Linked DNA regions of Homo sapiens: regions 1, 2, 4, 5 and 6 are each linked to region 3. The links are contacts of gene promoters, found by promoter capture Hi-C in blood cells and fetal thymus (Javierre and others, 2016). All regions are on one chromosome and are shown on one strand. The core of a region is centred on a gene start or on the middle of the fragment in contact, and the rest is flanking DNA. Distances in the headings are between cores, read along the strand shown.

Region 1 (3,033 bases), core at 95-2,594, 480 kb before region 3:
TAGAAATAGGACCACCACATCATAAAACACAATTTTATAGGGATTAACTGCTTGTTCATTTGAGACTATTACAATAGTTAAGAGTATAAACTATTAGACTCAGGAATTTCCTAGCACTTCAGGTCTAAGCTGAGAAGCTTTACTACCTTGCCACCTGTCTTTAACTCTCCAAATCTTCTTATGCAGCTAAGACAATAGACCAAAGACAAGGCTTTATCTCAGCTCACAAGAGCACTGATTAATATTCTCTCACATGCTTTGCAAACCTACCACACTGTACAATGCTTCGAAAGCGGAGATCACAAGCTGGTCCAATCCCATGGACTACAAAAACCAAGTGATCTATTTGTAAAGGTTCTCCTATAAATGAAATTAAAAAGAAAATTATTCTGTATAATTAGTCATGTATTCTAATATCATTCATCATGAAAAGGTTATAAATATGAGCAAGTTAAAAGATGAACAGATAATTTAAAAGATACAAAATAGTCCTTTAAGTACCTAGCAAAAATACACTGATTTTACTTGGTTTCTAATTTATCTTGAAATAAGTCTGTAAAATTTTTTTCAGGACTTTTTTCTTTTTTTTCTGATCTCTGAAAAAGAAAACTCGGCTGGGCGCGGTGGCTCACGGCTGTAATCCCAGCACTTTGGGAGGCCAAGGCAGGTAGATCATGAGGTCAGGAGTTCGAGACCAGCCTGACCAACACGGTGAAACTTCATCTCTACTAAAAATACAAAATTAGCCGGGTGTGGTGGCACATGCCTGTAATCCCAGCTACTCGCGAGGCTGAGGCAGAAGAATCACTTGAACCCTGGAGGTGGCAGAGGTTGCAGTGAGCCGAGATCACACCACTGCACTCCAGCCTGGGTGACAGAGCAAGACTCTGTCTCCAAAAAAAAAAACTCTTTTTTTTTTTTTTTTAAATTATGGTTTTTTTTTTGTTTGTGACAGAGTCTTGCTCTGTCACCCAGGCTGGAGTGCAGTGGCACGATCTTGGCTCACTGCAACCTCTGCCTCCCGGGTTTAAGCGATTCTCCTGCCTCAGCCTCCCGAGTAGTTGGGACTACACGCACACGCCACCACACCTGGCTAATTTTTTGTAGTTTTAGTAGAGACAGGGTGTTTCACCGTGTTAGCCAGAATGGTCTCGACCTCCTGACCCGCCCGCCTCAGCCTCCCAAAGTGCTGGGATTACAGCCGTGAGCCAACACACTTGGCCTTTTTTCAGGTTTTAAAAACTTTTTTTTTTTTTTTTTTGAGACAGAGTCTCACTCTGTCGCCTAGGCTGGAGTGCAGTGGCATGATAAACACTCATTCCAGCCTCAACCTTCTGGGCTCGAGTGATCCTCCTGCCTCAGCCTCCAAAATAGCTGAGACTACAGATGTGTGCTACCATGCCCAGTTAATTTTTGTATTTTTTGTACAGACAGGGTTTCGCCATATTGCCCAGGCTGGTCTCGAACTCCTGGGCTCAAGTGATCCTTCCACCTTGGCCTCCCCAAGTGCTGGGATTACAGGCATGAGCTACCACGTGCAGCCAGGTTTTTAAAACTTTTTATTTCTAAATAACTAGAAATGTACAGAAAACTAGAAAGCATAGTACAGACACTCCCACATACTTTTTACAGAGATTCAACTTTTTAACAATTACATTTGCTTTATGATTCTCTGTGTGTGTACACACACACACACACACATTTATTTTTCTGAATCATTAGAAAGCAGACTACATACATCATCAGGTTGCATGCACCATACCTCTTTAACCCTTTAATACCATAATGTGTATTTCCTAAGTATATTATCTTACATAACCATAATACAGTTATTGAATCCAGGCAACTGAACATTGATAAAATACTTTTATCTAGTATTTCATTTTTATCAATGTTTGGTATGTTTTTAAAGCCTGAAATTTTAAACTCATCTTTTTAAATTACAGTAAAGCTAGGATTTTGTCCAAGAGACAAGAAAAAAGGAATATTATAATCCAATTAAATATATTATAAAACCATAAGTGACCCTACCTAGATAGCAGTGCATAATCAGGTCCTGCTGAAAAACAGTTTTCCTTAGTTGAAAATCTTCAAGGACAAGGAGTTATTACCAGGTATAAATTTCTAGTCAAGTAGGTGGAATCACACTTCTTGGAATTAGGACTAAATCAGTTCATCTGTACTTAGTGACTTCCTGGATAGTATTGCCAAATTTTACCCATCCTACCATATGTTTTAAAAGATATTTTTACATCTATTAAGATTCTTAGTAGACGAAGTGATGCTAATCTCAACTTGGAATAAACCCATATGATTAAAGATGATTTTTAAGCCTTGAGGTAATCTAAATCCACAGAAAAAGGTCACAATTTAAGGAGTAAACAAATACATCCAAAGGTAAGAAAAAATAAACGATTAACATTACCACAATGAATGTCAACAGAGATGTTCTCAACTCCTCTCTTCACAGTTCTTGGTCGACCCTGCTCCGTGGGTGTTGAACCCCAATCATCAGACCCTGCAACTGGCTGGTAATGCACCATAAGCTTAAACAGAACAGATCAGAGCAATAAAAATATTCTGCAATACAATCATCTCTATACAATGCAGTTTTAAGTGTAGAATCATGTCTTTCAAACCACACAGTAAAATCTGAACTGGAGTTTTGATATACAACTCGTATGGCTTGAAATGAGAACCGTGAAAATATATTAGGCTAACAGATCTGTCAATAGTCCCTTTCTACATGGAAGACATGCTCACATAATATGTCAGTGATTTTCTTATTCTACAGTGGCATAATTTTCCATAAGAAAATTATTTTGTATAAGCTGAGTTGGGTAAATAACAGTAGTGGCTACAAGTTTTTAAGTTTCATAACTGTGAATTCAATATAAAATTTGACAAAGGTTATCCTACACAGAGTGCTTAGCAAAAGAAACCAATTGAGTTCTCCCTAATAGCGCAATTAACTTTTTATCCCGACAAGAGAAATGCTTTGTTTTACCTTTGGATTGTGTAAAATAATAATTT
Region 2 (2,795 bases), core at 291-2,790, 320 kb before region 3:
CACAAAATTCTTGAAACGTTGAAAGGATGAACTGGACTGAAACAACTGTTGAAGAAGTTTTGCCAAGAGACTCATTTAAGGTGGGACCAGGTATTGCCCATGGTCCTTCTCCGAGTCAGGTGTACCCCTACAAATTAACCAGGTATCCACCCTATGAGATAGTGTATGGCCCACCACCCCCACTTATATCTCAGTTAAAAGGAGATTGAAAGGAAATTGGAGAACCGACCCTAAGAAGATAAATGCAGGCATTAGGTGAGGTAATGCAAGAAGTACAAAGGTGGGTAAGAGAAAGAATACCTGTTAGCCTTACAGATGCAATACATCTTTTTCAACGTGGGGACTCTGTATGGGTTAAATGCTGGAATCCTACCACCCTCGGGCCCTTATGGGATGGCCCCCATATTGTGATCATGTCTACCCCTACTGCTGTTAAAGTTGCAGGTATTACACCACCACAGTCAACTAAAACCTGCAGCCTCAGTTCAAGACCAATGGACGAGTCAGCAAGATCCAGATCATCCAACTCGACTGATCTTGCAGAGGAACCAAGGCGCAGCAGGAAAAGACAACTGCCCTGCTACGACCACACCAGAGGCTGGTCGGTCAACGCACGGCTGTAGCTTAAGGAAGCATCAAGCTCTGCTCTAGTCACACAACTGGAAGCTGACTAGTCTACGCAAGGCTGAAGCTTAAGGAAACATCAAGCCCTGCTCTAGTCACACAACCAGAAGCTGACTAGTCTATGCACGGCCGAAGCCTGAGGAAGCCAGCACTAGATGAGTAAATGTGGACTGAATTTGCAAATGTAGTTACACTATTGCTTATACTGATTGCCTTGCTGTCATGCTATCTTTGCAACTGCTACCAAACTTGTTGCCCAGGAGGATGCCCGTGCATAGTATAAACTTGATCAGACTAATGACAATAATGTTAACAGGCATGGGAGGAAACCAAGATAATTGTCATCATTGTATGATAGAAGCTTGGTCTGGTAAAGGTATAACTAAAACCCTGTTATATCAAACTTATTATGAGTGTAATAAGTTTGTAAAGGAACTCCCTTGGGGACATGTGTTTATAATCAAACCAGCTACTCCGTCTGTGACACGGAAATAGGCAACCTCAAGTATGTTATAATCCAGGCCTCCTTCCCTATGACTTCTGGTTTTAAATTCAAAATAGGGAAACCTTTATTACCTTCATATGCCAATCCTAAAGACGTTAGAACTGGGAAACTCGTAAGCAAAATGCAGGTATTCTCTTATTCACATAAAGGATCTATTTCTATATATTTTGATGCCTGTCAGGCTGCACACCTCAGCAACCTAAACAATCTAGGAGTAGTCTGCAAGAACTTAGGACAAGAAAGAGTCAGTAGCAAGCCTGCTAAGATCATAACAGGAGAACTAGAAGAAGAATGTCCTGATGGTAACATTCAATGGACCACAAATCAGTTCAGCCAATGCCTTTATGCAGGGAGAGTAGCTCTGCTAACCAGCCAAGAAGCAAAGATTGGTTGTGCAACTAAAACATGCAACCCCCTAAATCTGACCATATTAAGGCCAAACATGCCTTTTTGGACTAAAGGACACCAAGGAGAGCAATCTTTGCTCGAGAAGAAGTAAATCTAGGTATTCAATTAATCATTATTAAAAAGACTCAGCGAGCTGAAGCTCAAGTCAGTCCAATGTCACAGTTCAGATTTTTCAAATCCTTCAGTAAACATTTTAACCCCAGGGAGCCAAAAGTTCAGATTCCACCAATGTCAGCTGAGAACCTACTCACTCAGCTAGCTGAAAGTATTGCTACTAATCTCAGAGTCACCTCATGTTATGTATGTGGAGGTACCAGTATAGGTGACCAATGGCTCTGGGAGGCTAGAAAACTAATGCCATAAGATAACTTTACCATACTGGAATTTGTTACAAGGTTCAATGCAAACCCAAGCGTCTGGCTCTTAAAAACCCCTATCATTAGAAGATACTGCATAGCACCATGGGGAAAAGACTTTCAAACTCAAGTAGGAGATAAAACTTGTTTAGGTCAGCAATATTTTGAATAGTCTAAGAACAAGACACAGTGGAGAAGCTTTATAGACAATTCCTCTGTACCAGATTTTAACCCTCTCTTTCAGTTTCCAGCACTAAATCAGTCATGGTATCAACTAGATGCTCCAAATGTTTAGAAAGCACCGGCAGAACTATATTGGACCTGTGGGACAAAAGCCTATCAACTATTGCCTGAGAAGTGGACTGGAGCCTGTGTGTTAAAGACAATAAGGCCGTCCTTCTTCTTGCTCCCACTGAAACAAGGGGAAGATTTAAGTTACCTGGTCTATAATGAAGAAGGGAAAAGGACCAGAAGAAACGTCTTTATTCAGATAAGTACTGTAGAAAAGATAAACACAAACATAAAGAAGGACATTGAGATAGGAAGCTGGAAGGATAATGAGTGGCCTCCTGAAAAAATTATCAAATACTATGGGCCAGCTACATGGGCTCAAGATGGATCATGGGGCTACCGCACCCCTATTTACATGTTAAACCGAATTATAAGATTGCAAGCAGTACAGAAGTCATAGTCAATGAAACACCCCAAGCCTTGGATCTGTTAGCTTTACAGGCCACTCAAATGAGAGATGCTATATACCAAAATAGGCTAGCATTAGACTACCTCCTAGCCTCAGAAGGAGGAGTTTGTGGCAAGCTTAATTTGACCAACTGTTGCTTACAAATCGATAATAACAGAAGAGCTGTTATGGAAATTACTGCTAGAATGAGGAAGTTAGCCCA
Region 3 (3,022 bases), core at 8-2,507:
TTGCACGATTTAGTCTTCTTGTATCCATCATCCCCTGAAGTTTTCACAGAATCACAGTGTTCTCAAGGACGTGACGGAGTCAGATCAATTAGAAAAATGTCTCCTCTTCCTTCCTTCCACAGCGATGCGTAACCAGCCTCGTTTGAGTCCAAGTCGTGACTACTGGGAGTATGCTGATGATTGACGCTTTCCAGAGAGTTACCCGAACAGGCAGCCCATCTGCCTGAGAGTTTCCCTGAGAGAACCTCCAAGGTGATGTTTATTAGGGGAAGCCCTAGATTTTTCTTGGAGAATCACCGAGAATCACAGAATATTAACATCAGAAGAGATCTCAGAGCTTTCAGAGCTGAGGGCCGGAATAGTTACCTGACTTGTTCAAGGTAACGTCTAAGGAATAGTCAAAGAAAGACTATAATACAGGTCTTGTCTTCAGCCAGCATAAATGCTCGATCAGAGAAACCTGTGACCTCTCTGTTAAGGTCCGTCTCATTCCACACCATTCAGCTTAAACTTGCACTGAGGTGGGCAGATTTTGATTCTTGGTCTAATCAAAGTCCAAGAGGATGTAATATATATATACACAAAAGACGAAAGCTCCCCTTAACCGGCTTGGGATTGGACTTCTCCCTCCTGCCCCATAAACAAGTGCCGCTCTGATGCCAGCGAAGTCCGGCCAGTCCACCCTCACCTCGGCCTCCGGGCGGCACTGGCATTTCTTGGGCACTTAGCAGGTGAGACGCTGCCACACACGCGATCTCGGGCGTCTCTGGCCTCCGCGGGGTGCTCTTGTACCCCCGTCTCCCCTTACCATCCGTGGGCACAGGCCTGGCCCCCCTCGCATCCGCCAAGGCTATCGACCCCGAAACGACGCGGTGCGCAAGTGGCCACGACACCTAGGCACTAAGTCATTTTCCCGAGGTAGCGGTACCCTCTGCTCCAACGAAGCCAATCTCCAGAAAACCTAACAGACTCAAGGTAAGGAGGCTGGGGAAACCCTTCGCTAGCCTTTCGGTGGCCCTAGGCGGCCGACCAGTCCCGCCTCTCTGGGAGACCCCTCTGCGTCACCGTGACGACCCATTCCCACGCAGGTGTCCCTCTTCTCAAGGCGGCCGCCCACCGTCCCCACGCAGCCTCCTTCCTCACCCGCGGCCGCCGCGCCACAGCCTGCTGCACGCGCTCGTTCACCGCCCGCAATGCGCACCCGACTCCCAGCTCGGCCGACATGCTGCCAGCTCTCCACATCCCCCGGGGACCGACGCCGAGCCCCAGGCCCCCGGCAGCCCGTGGCTCACACCATCTTCCGGTTCCGCCCAGCTTGCGCCGTGTGAACCAATCATTGCTCATCATTGAGTCGTCTCACCCAATCAACACCCGTGCAGCGTGGAGGCCCGCCCCCAGGCGGCGGCCATCTTGGGGAGGTCACCCGCGAACCTGGAAATGGAGCCTAGGGGCTGAGGTTTTGCGCGCCTGGTTCCAAGGGCCACTCCCCGTGTGCTCTCCTCTTTCCTGCGCCTCAGCCGCTGCCGTCCCCCCACCCCCAAGGGACTTTTGTGAGGCAGAAACGCATCCTATACTCGGGGGATCCTGTTTCCTTTCAAAACGCCTTTCCAGGCTTGCCCGTTCCCGGCTTTCTGGGCGCGGGGACCAGAATTAGAAGCCACTGGGGCGGGAGCCAGGGCTTTTCTCTGTCAGATGGTTCTTGCGAGGAACCCCTAAGCGATACGAAAGGAAACTCTTCTTTCTTCTTTTCCCTAAAGACATGGCGTGATTCAAACGTATCGTGATTTTTGTCATCTTTCAGACCACTGCTGTCCAAGAGAAATATAACGCCATCCAACTGTGTAATTTGGAAGTTTCTCATAGGCACATAAGCTTAAAAATTTTAATGATATACTTTATTTAATCCAATATATCCAAAGTAAGATTTCAACATGCAATCAATAGAAAAACTAAATGCGATATTTTAATTCTTTTGAAAATCGTATGTGTTTCTGAAACCCGGTGTAGTGTTGACTTGCATATGTCTCAATTCGGGCCATCCCTATTTCGAGAGGTTAGCGGCCACCTGCGGCCAGTGCTGTCTCATCAGGGGACACAGGCAGCATGATTATTACTATTATTATTATTGAGACAGTCTCGCTCTGTCACCCAGGCTGGAGTGCGGTGGCCCGATCTGGGCTCACTGCAACCTCCACCTCCCGGGTTCAAGCGATTCTCCTGCCTCAGCCTCCCCAGTAGCTGGGACTACAGGTGCGAGCCACCGCGCCCAGCCCACAGGCAGCTTTAGATGGTCTAGCAGGAGCTCAGCACATTCAGTTAGATTCTTTTTTTGAGATGGGGTCTCGCTATGTTGCCCAGATTATCTGGGACTCGTGGGCCCAAGCAATCCTCCCACCTCCGCCTCACAGAATAGCTGGGACTACAAACGGGCACCACAACGCCCTGAGTTTGATTCTTGAGTCCCCTTCTGTGGGCAATATGGTTATAAACTTGATGAGGAGCCAGGCCATACAAATAATAATACAGAATGCTACATAGTCAGGTGGTGAAATAGTAGGTGCTACGGGCAAGGAGAAGGAGATCAATTTTGTTAAGGAAAGCACTCTTGGCTGCAATTTCTGTTGAAAGTTTCTCAAACATTAATTCAACTTAATGAAGTGGGATGCTATTATATTAGAGAAATGGCTAATGTTTGTTCTTCAGGTGGTCTTGTCTTGAGGTGATGGGGTTTATTAGAGCTTTCCGGAAAGAAGGGGCAATATTCTTACTCTCTCCTCTCACAGTTTTTCCCCAGACTCCCAGGAACAGAGATGGAATTTCACATCTTCTGCTCTGGGAAAGTCACATTAGGCAGAACCTCAGATCCTTAAAATAAGGGACTTCTTTTTGGGAAGTCTCTGGTCATTTACCCTGGTACACATTAACTGGGTTATCTGCAAACTAGGACTGCCAACATTAGGAGTAATTGTGTTCAGATAAAATGTCTCTAGACTTGATACATCTGTACTCCAACCAAAATGAT
Region 4 (2,885 bases), core at 15-2,514, 270 kb before region 3:
GGCAGGGCTGGACAAGATCCCTAACCGTTCTAACAGTGTATGTTTTGGATCAAACAGCAGAGGACCTCGGATCTGGCCGCGCTCGCTGCTGGTGGGACAGCTGCCTGAGAAAATAAGCATGTGGCCCCCGCCCGCCACCTAGCCAAGCGCCAGGATCTGTCGCGTTTTCTAGTAGTATGGAAAGCAGCGTGGAGGAGAATGAAGGGAGAGGAGCAAAAAGGGGTGGGGGCAGTGCGACAATGAGAGGGGAGGAGAGAGCCACGAGGATTTATTTCATCATGCAAACAGGCGCGTAGGTTTCATCAGCGTCTGTGCGCTGGGGCTCCGGGGCTGGGAGGGAATGCCAGGTTCCTGAGGGCAGCCCGAGGCTGGCCCCCCCACCCGTGCCAGCTCAGCTTCCTCTTCCTCATCCTCTCCCAGGGAGGTCACACGGTGCCTCCTCCTCTCCCCGGACAGAAGAACGTGTTTTTCTGCACAGCCCTGGCCGTGGCGCCAGGGTCCCCCCCGCGGAGATCCCACTCGCGTAAATGGGGAACGTGCCACAGGTGCCCGGGAGGCGCTGCTGGAGCAGGCAAGCACCCCCAGATCCGAACCTCAGTCAGAGCGCGCGAGTCCAACACAAAACTCGGCGTGCTTCGGGAAGGAAAAAGGGCCCTGCAGGAATCGTTTATCCCAACAGATAATACCCATCCCATAAAAACACCAGGCCAGGCCTCTCCTGGATCGTGGGCCACCCTAACTCCGCCCTCTCCCGCTTCGGGAGCGCCCCCAACACCCACAAGGGGCAGCACAGCTCGGCATGTGGCTGTCCTGGAGGCGTGCGTGTTTGTTAGGTGTCAGCTGTCTGACACCTAACAGAAAGAGGAAACAAACGGGGCAGTTTGTAACTCGGGTCTGGAAGACGCACTCAGAGGGGAAGCGGGCGGCCACTTCCATGACCCTCGCTGTCTCTCCGATGCCCCTTTTCCGTTCTTTCCAATCACGGCGCCCTTGAGCCTGGACACCCGGTCCAATCCGCGATTCCCGATCCTCCCGCCCGCCCAGGAGCCGGCAAGCGGCGTCGCCAAGCCCGCGCCTACCTCCCGGGGTGGTGCTGAAGAGCGTGCCGCCGGGGGTCGTGCTGTAGTCCCCGGGCGGGAGCTGCACGCCGTCGCCGAGCACCACCCGGCGAGTGGCGGGGATGGCCCGGCTTGGGGTCTGGCTGCAGCTGCTGCCCCCGGACATGGTCTCCTGTGCGCTGCACCCGCGAACCTCTCGCTGCCCTCCCGCGCCTCCAGCCTCGCTCCGCCTCGCCCCGTGCCGCCCCGCCCCAGGACGCCCCTTCCGCCTCTCCCGCCCCACGCCCCTGGGATTTGTAGTCCGCGCCGCAGCCCCACCCAGCTCCAGGACGCTGCTTCCACGTGGGATCCCCCGCCGCCCCCCGACCCACTCCCGTCTGCTCACGGGCTCTTCCGCACGGGCGCTGGCGCCGCCCCGCAGCGACTGCCCCTCCGTCCGGGGTCCCTCCCCGCCACGCTGGCAGGGACGGATATGGGGATGGCGGGCGGGATAGCTCGCCTAAATTAATCCTTGGCTGGGTTGGGGGCGGCGACTCAGGACCGCGCGGAGATCCGAGCTGACCCGGCCCACTGCAGGAAGGCCCGGTTTCTGCATTAGGACATCAGGCCTGGTGTACCCTTCGGCACTCCCTGTTTCGTGCCTTAGTTCCTCAGATGAGAAAATGGGGATTGAGTAGTTATGCTCACCGCCCCCCGCCCCGCTTCAATTTCTTGACCTTGATGGGGGTGGGGGTGGAGGGGCTAACAATTCCGTTCCCGGCCTTTAGAGAGGGTGTGGGAGGAGGAGTGAACCAACCAGCGGCGTCCTGGGAGCTAAATTTAGAGCTGGGGGCGCAGAGGTGGGTGGTGGGGAAGGGCGTTGGAGAGGAGTAAGAGTGTCGAAGAGGTTTCCCGATAGCCCCTGAATTGAGTCCAACGTCCACCTGAGGTTTAGTAGGTACTCCTTGGATGGATGGATGGATGGATGGATGGATGGATGGATGGATGGATGTTCAAGGGGAGAGAGAAAAATGCAAGAAGGACCGAGGATGGAAAAGCTTGTTGGGTTTGAGAAGTTCTTAGCATTATGGGCACATATTGTGGGGAAGAGGGTGAAGAGGGGAGGGCAGTTTAAAAGGGAAATTGGGTGGTGCACCTGTAATCCCAGCTACTCAGGAAGCTGAGGCTGGAGGATGCTTGAGCCCAGGGGTTTGAGGCTCCAGTGAGCTGTGATCACACCACTGCACTCCACCCTTTGTGACAGAGACCCTATCTCTAAAAAAATATATAATAATTTTTTAAAAAGGAAATTGGGGTCAGGTCGTTGAGTTTTTCAAATTATGCCAAAGTGCTTGGACTTTGTCTTAGAAGGGCAGGAGATATCAGAGATCTTTTAAGCAGGGGGATGACATGATTTGAGTTGTTTTTTGGAAGGATAACTAGTAGCCAGTGGAGTTTCAGAATGGGCCAAGGAGGGCAAGGCCTGAGATAGGGAGACCTGTTGAGTTTGGTCTCACTTTTGAGGGAAACTTTAGGCCTACAGTGGCTAAGACAGTAGCCACCAGCTACAGGTGCACATTGAGCACTCCAAATGTGACCAGTCCAAACTGTCACAAGTTTAACATACACACCATATTTCAAAGACTTAGTGTGAAGAAAATCATGTAAAATACCTGAATAATTTGTTTCTATATTGATTGTATGTTGAACTGATAATATTTTGAGTATACTGGGTTAAGAAAAATACATTATAAAAATTAATTTTGGGCCAGGCGCAGTGGCTCACGCCTGTAATCCCAACACGTTGGGAGGCCGAGGCAGGCGGATCATGAGGTCAAGAGATCGAGA
Region 5 (3,072 bases), core at 404-2,903, 440 kb after region 3:
TTTGCCATATTCTATTTGATAGAAGTGAATCACTATGTCTAGCTCACTCTCAAGGAAAGGAGAATTAATCTTGACTTCTGGAAGGGATATGTACAAAGAATTAGCCAAGATACTTTGAATCTCCATTTCTTCTTATTTCTATTCCTAATTATTCATAGAAAAATCATAGTGCTGAACTTTTAATTTCCATTTTCATACCATGAATTATCAAAATTTGATGTTGAAATGGAACTAGATGAAATACAAATAAATGTGATTACAGACATTTATTAATTATGCAAAACCAAATGATATAAAGCTTTGTTTTGACTACTTCCCCTTTATGATTCTTCTTCTTGGGTTATACTGGATAAGGCCCCTCTTCTACCTTGTGGATTTTCCTTGTAGACTTTTTCCATTGCCCCAGGGACCTTGAATTTGCTTTCAAATTTATGGTCATTCATTTAGAAAATATTTAGGAAATTTGCACGGCCAGTTCAATGAGGTTGTTCAATGGAAGTTTTTGAATCGCAAATAATGGGGGAAGTGTAGTTAAAGTAGCACCTCCTCCTCCTTCTTTGCACTGGCCAGTCCCTGCTCTAAATGCAGAGCGGATCAAGTCAGTTGAGATGCTGCTAAACTTTACCAGCCAGCTGGCCAGTGTCTCATTGAGCATCAATATTGGGACTGGTTGTTTACTGGATGGTGAGAAAAGAAAAGAACTTTTATCTGAGGAATGGGAGTCCTTTTAATTAGCAGGCCCAGAGAGATATTAAAATGAGACAGCAATCACATCCTACTTCCCCCTTGAGCTACGTATTCTTCTCTTGAAACTGCTTGCTATTACTACAGGCTATAAATTAACCTCATAATGCCACACCAGACACTATCAGCCACAACCTATTGCTTAACAATGTCTAGCCAATCACTAATCAATGTTATTTCTGTAAACCAGTGAGAATTCCTGACGAACAACTTTGTATCAATCCACTCCTTGTCCCCTGTTTTGCCTTTAAAAATCCACTTGTAACTGCTGCTAATCAAAGTGTATATTCAGGACAACTTGATTCTGTGCTCCCGAGTTGCAATTTCAAGTTTGGCCCAAATACCTTTCTACTTACACTAATGTGGCCTCAGATTCTTCCTTTTAGGTCAACAATAGCTATGAATGTGTTTTGGTTGTTTAATAGAGGGAGTTTCAAGGCAAGTTGTCATAGTCCGGGCATTATCCATACAAAAACTGGAGACTCTTAGCAGGCCACAGATTAAGGATGACATTCAAGTACGCGAAGCTGGCTCTACCTGAAGCCTTCCCAAGTCCCCAGTCAGGTTCACTTATCCAATCATCCATCCACTTCACACACATTTATTAACCCTGTACTGTGGGTCAGGCATTATGCCAAAGCAAGAGATGACAAATAGTGAAACTGCCTTTGCAAAGATGATAACAGTGAGAACATTATGACAGTGAAGGTGATCTGACCTAACCAACTCCATCTTGCCTTTAACTTCCAAGCTGTCCTTGTTCATTCCTGAACATAGGCTGAACTATGTAAAACTGACATATTAGCCACAAAATTAGAAATTATGGCTCAGGAGTCATTCAGTCAGAGGCCATAGCATTCCTAACCTCCCCAGTTGCTTTGATGGCTAACATTACTATTCTAAGACCTAAGATTGGTGTTTGAGATATTTTCCAGACCTTGCATTCTGATGCATCAGCTGGCACCACCCAGACTGGTAAAGTGGCTCATCTGGTCTTGTGGCTCCCACGTAGGAACTGGCTCAGTGCAAGAGGATGGCTTCAATCCCCTATCATTTTATCCCTGACCCAACCAATCAGTATTCCCCATTCCCTAGCCCCTGCCTGCCAAACTATTTTTAAAAAGACCTAGCCTCTGAATTTTCAAGGAGGCTGATTTGAGTAATAATAAAACTCCAGTCTTCTGTTTAGCTGGCTCTATGTATTAAACTCATTCTCTATTGCAAGTCCCTTGTCTTGATAAATCAGCCGTAGCTGGGCAGTGGGCAAGGAGAACCCATTGGGCAGTTATAATAGTTTCCAAATAGGTGGTGAAAAGCACTGGGATGAGGAAGAAGGGGCAGGGTACTTCTCCTGGCAAAGAGCCAGTCTCAGGGCTGATGTTCAGGGGGCACTAGAGGGTGGTGACAAAGGAGAGAAAGGGACTCAGGACACTTTTCAAGGCTTTGGCACAGAGAGAAGGAAGAAGACAGAAGCACTGTGGTAAGAACTGGGTGCAGGGTGGGACCAGCAGCCAGAGGTTAGGGAGCCATTCAACTATCAGACTTGAGGCCAAATTAGCGGCAAGTGAGACTCACCTGCTGAGACCCTGAGGTGGGCCTAGAACCTCTTCCGTCTCACAGGTCTCAGCGAGGGCAGGGCTGGAAGGTGGGTTTCCAGGCAAGCATGAAGTCAAGTTTCCTGAGCCGGGGAGAGGAGAGCTGCAGAGACTGGCAATTCCTGCTGCACCCCAAACATCCCAGCAGTGGGGATGGCTCTGCAAAGGAGTGGGGAGAGCCAGGCAGGGAGCTGGATGGGCCCAGATAAGAGTCCCTGCCCATCCCTGACACCCACCACACAGGTCCCACTTCTCGGCTGCCTATGGCCAGAATGAATCCCCCAGATGCACAGGCAGGGCAGATGCCCCCAAGAGCTGGCTCCAGGAGGGGTGCCCTGTGTTGGTGGATCCAGTGCCAAAGAGTACAAAGCCCCATAGAGGCGCAGGGCAGCTTTCTCTCCTCCCCTGCAGTAGGGCCTGGCTCCTGCTCCTCAGGGGGTTCATTTCAATGTTAATGAAACTAAGAAGGTGAAGAAAGTTGTTTTCTTCTAGAAATTCCATTTCACCCTTCCTTGCTCTCTGAACATACCTCCCTGATTTAGATACACTGTGTTTAATTAAAACTGTGTTTGTTTTTCTTCCTCCTTTGCTCTCTCCACTTCCCTGTGAAGACCTCTTCCTGGGCTGTCTCTGCCTCCCAGCCCCACCAGGCCTTTGGGGAAAGCTTGGTTCGGGGATTTTCTTTCTCTGCCTTGCCACCTGGGATACAGAAAAAGTCTTGCATTGGGAACCT
Region 6 (2,932 bases), core at 186-2,685, 390 kb before region 3:
TTTTGTATTGTCAGTAGAGACGAGGTTTCACCATGTTGGTCAGGCTGGTCTCAAACTCCTGACCTTGTGATTTGCCCGCCTCAGCCTCCCAAAGTGCTGGGATTACAGGCATGAGCCACTGTGCCCAGCCCATGCCCTGTCTTTTCAAGCTTTCTGCACATACCAAGACCCCCAGCCCAGCTCACTCAGACAAAGCTACTGGCGGGAAAGTGTGAGGAAGGGTGTGGGCGTGGCCCAGGCCCTCCTCTTCTCTCTGCCGTATACTGATAGGGCTGCCCCGCCCCCCCCCGCCCCCCCGCGACTCAGCCACGAGAGGTCATCCTTGCTCCAGCACAGACCCCTAAGAACCCTCACTCGGAACAGGACTTTGGGAAAGGTGGTTTCTATAAATAGATGAGTAAATAAATTGACAGTTGAATATACCAAGCGTCCTGGGGACCGCAGGAGGAACTGTGTACAGATGGCTTGAAGGCCAGAGGCTTGGGTTGTTGTCCTGGCCCTGCCACTGGCCAGCTGTTTGACCTTGAACAAGTCAGTTCCACTCTGTGGACTTCAGGGTCCTCACCCAGAAGAAGAGCAGCCATATGGTCTCTACTGCCTGGTAAACACCCTGGCTCACTCTCGCGAGACGGTGGTTCTCAAAGTGTAGTGTGTAGTCCACACAACACCTGCATTGCAACCACTGGGTATTTATTTATTTATTTATTTAATTTATTTATTTATGACGGAGTCTCACTCTGTCGCCCAGGATGGAGTGCAGTGGCACGATCTTGGCTTACTGCAACCTCTGCCTCCTGGGTTCAAGTGATTCTCATGCCTCAGCCTCCCGAGTAGCTGGGACTACAGGTGCCTGCCACATCACCCGGCTAATTTTTTGTATTTTTAGTAGAGATGAGGTTTCACCATGTTGGCCATGCTGGTCTCGAACGCCTGACCTCAAGTGATCTGCCCACCTCGGCCTCCCAAAGTGCTGGGGTTACAGGCGTAAGCCACCGCGCCTGGCCAAGGGAAGTTTTTTTCTTTTCTTTTTTTCTTTTTTCTTTTCTTTTCCTTCTTTTTTTTTTTTTTTTTTTTTTTTTTTTTTTTTTTTAACACAGGTTTCTGAGCCTCAATTCCAGATCAGCTGAGCCTGGAGTTTCTGAAGACAAGGGCTAGAAATCTGCACTTTAAAGTCTTGAAAACCACTGTGTGCCTTCATCTAAGCTGCCCCTGCTTCTCTCCCCTCCATCCCTCGCCTGGCCCTGTCCTCCCTACTCTCCCCTGCACCCTCCCCCGCCCCAAGCTCCCCACAAACGGCCAAAGCAGCAGTGTGAGGCAATCGCTCTATCCTTGACCCCTTCCTTTGCACAGTGAGTGATGGCGTTTTTATCTCCTGATGATGATGCACAGCCTTCAGCGGGGGACATTTAAGACGCAGAACACCAGGTCCAGGCTGCAGCTGCGGGACTCAGAGGCGAAGCTTGAGGGGCTCAGGAAGGACGAAGAACCACCCTTGAGAGAAGAGGCAGCAGCAGCGGCGGCAGCAGCAGCGGCAGCGACCCCACCACTGCCACATTTGCCAGGAAACAATGCTGCTAGCGACATTCAAGCTGTGCGCTGGGAGCTCCTACAGACACATGCGCAACATGAAGGGTGAGCGCTGCGGGAAGGAGGCGATGAGGGGTTGGCCAGCTCTCAGCGGATGAGGCTCAGGCCACCCAATTCTGATCCTAGTTGTGCCTCTTACTGGGTGAACCTGGGCAAGTTTCTTCCCTTCTTGAATCTCAGTTTTCCCCTCGGAAGAAGTGGGCTGGTTACTAAGATATATCCCTTCCAGATTCTATAATTTCTGGTCTCCCCTCCAGGACTCCAATCTTTTTTTCTCCTTTTCTTTCATTTTTATTCTTTTTCTTTCTTCCTTCCCTCCTTCCTTTCCTTTCTTTCTTCCTTTCTTCCTTCCCCTTTTCCTTCATTCGTTCTTTTTTTCTTCCGCCTTTTCTTTTTTTTTTGTTTGAATAAAGGTCTCTGTCACAGAGGCTGGAGTACAGTAGAACAATCATAGCTCACTGCAGCCTCAAACTCATGGGCTCAAGCCATCCTCCCACCTCAGCCTCTTGAGTACCTGGGACTACAGGCGTGCACCACCACAACCAGCTAGTTTTATTTATTTATTTTTATTTTTATTTTTTTTAGAGACAATGTCTTGCTATATTGGTCACGCTGGTCTTGACCCCCTGGGCTCAAGGGATTCTCCCACCTTGGCCTCCCAAAGTGCTGGGATTACAGGTGTGAGCCGCCACACCTGGCTTACTTTATTTTGAGATGGAGTCTCACTCTGTTGCCCAGCCTGGAGCGCAGTGGCACGATCTCGGCTCACTGCAACCTCCGCCTCCTGGGTAGCTGGGATTACAGGTGCATGCCACCACGCCTGGCTAGTTTTTGTATTTTTAGTAGAGACAGGGTTTCGCCACGTCGACCAGACTGGTCTTGAACTCCTGACCTCAGGTGATCTGCCTCCCAAACTGCTGGGATTATAGGCATGAGCCATGGCGCTCAGCCTATTTTATTTTTGAGGCAGTCTCGCTCTGTTGCCTAGGCTGGAGTGCACTGGCGCTATCTTGGCTCACTGCAGCCTCTGCGTCCTGGGTTCAAGCAATTCTCCTGCCTCAGCCTCCTGAGTGGCTGGGACCACAGGCGTGCACCACCATGCCTGGCCATCTTTCTTGAACTATTCCTGACTTTGCCTTCCTTCAGAGCTGGACAAGTCTTGTAGCAGGGGTACACAGGAAAGTCTTGCCCACAGTGGCAGAGTAAATATTAGACTTGACTCCCACAGGCAAAAAAAGACGGAGAAGAGACATAGGGGAGTAAGACAGGAGGGCAAGGTAAAGAGATAAGACGGAAGACTGATTATCATTGAATAGCCAGGAAGGGGCAGAAACCAGCTACAAGA

The links. The method cuts DNA at HindIII sites, captures the fragments that hold promoters and counts their contacts. A CHiCAGO score of 5 or more calls a contact.
Region 1: a fragment that was not itself captured here is called in contact with the fragment with the promoter of PLPBP in region 3 in 1 of 17 cell types (naive CD8 T cells); the score reaches 5.2 in naive CD8 T cells.
Region 2: a contact is called between a fragment that was not itself captured here and the fragment with the promoter of PLPBP in region 3, in 1 of 17 cell types (naive CD4 T cells). The highest score is 6.6, in naive CD4 T cells.
Region 4: a contact is called between the fragment with the promoter of EIF4EBP1 here and the fragment with the promoter of PLPBP in region 3, in 7 of 17 cell types (monocytes, total B cells, activated CD4 T cells and 4 more). The highest score is 8.1, in monocytes.
Region 5: a fragment that was not itself captured here is called in contact with the fragment with the promoter of PLPBP in region 3 in 5 of 17 cell types (M1 macrophages, M2 macrophages, M0 macrophages and 2 more); the score reaches 7.8 in M1 macrophages.
Region 6: the fragment with the promoter of STAR here is called in contact with the fragment with the promoter of PLPBP in region 3 in 1 of 17 cell types (erythroblasts); the score reaches 6.8 in erythroblasts.

The regions. Positions count from the first base shown.
Region 1 is chr8:38,237,602-38,240,634 of GRCh38, reverse strand. It overlaps DDHD2 (DDHD domain containing 2), which reads right to left. Exons shown (of 18, transcript NM_015214.3): 4 at 3,008-3,033; 5 at 2,426-2,546; 6 at 271-360. Among named protein-coding and RNA genes, the nearest start is that of DDHD2, 7.5 kb to the right of the region's middle. The HindIII fragment of the contact is 2,409 bases long and covers 140-2,548 here.
Region 2 is chr8:38,082,668-38,085,462 of GRCh38, reverse strand. No RefSeq gene overlaps it. Among named protein-coding and RNA genes, the nearest start is that of ASH2L, 21 kb to the left of the region's middle. The HindIII fragment of the contact is 1,106 bases long and covers 988-2,093 here.
Region 3 is chr8:37,760,880-37,763,901 of GRCh38, reverse strand. PLPBP (pyridoxal phosphate binding protein) reads right to left here and starts at 1,257. Exons shown (of 8, transcript NM_007198.4): 1 at 1,144-1,257. The coding sequence starts at 1,242. LOC124901934 (a long non-coding RNA gene) reads left to right here and starts at 638. Exons shown (of 2, transcript XR_007060889.1): 1 at 638-975; 2 at 1,089-3,022. RefSeq lists enhancers at 829-888, 1,197-1,491, 1,069-1,528, 1,629-1,708 and a silencer at 1,249-1,569. The HindIII fragment of the contact is 3,991 bases long and covers 1-1,874 here.
Region 4 is chr8:38,028,913-38,031,797 of GRCh38, reverse strand. EIF4EBP1 (eukaryotic translation initiation factor 4E binding protein 1) reads right to left here and starts at 1,264. Exons shown (of 3, transcript NM_004095.4): 1 at 1,080-1,264. The coding sequence starts at 1,224. RefSeq lists enhancers at 444-543, 1,173-1,467 and a silencer at 1,044-1,483. The HindIII fragment of the contact is 5,036 bases long and covers 1-2,097 here.
Region 5 is chr8:37,318,033-37,321,104 of GRCh38, reverse strand. No RefSeq gene overlaps it. Among named protein-coding and RNA genes, the nearest start is that of LINC01605, 280 kb to the left of the region's middle. The HindIII fragment of the contact is 2,705 bases long and covers 301-3,005 here.
Region 6 is chr8:38,149,455-38,152,386 of GRCh38, reverse strand. STAR (steroidogenic acute regulatory protein) reads left to right here and starts at 1,435. Exons shown (of 7, transcript NM_000349.3): 1 at 1,435-1,632. The coding sequence starts at 1,569. RefSeq lists enhancers at 916-948, 1,297-1,596 and a promoter at 147-1,462. The HindIII fragment of the contact is 1,310 bases long and covers 152-1,461 here.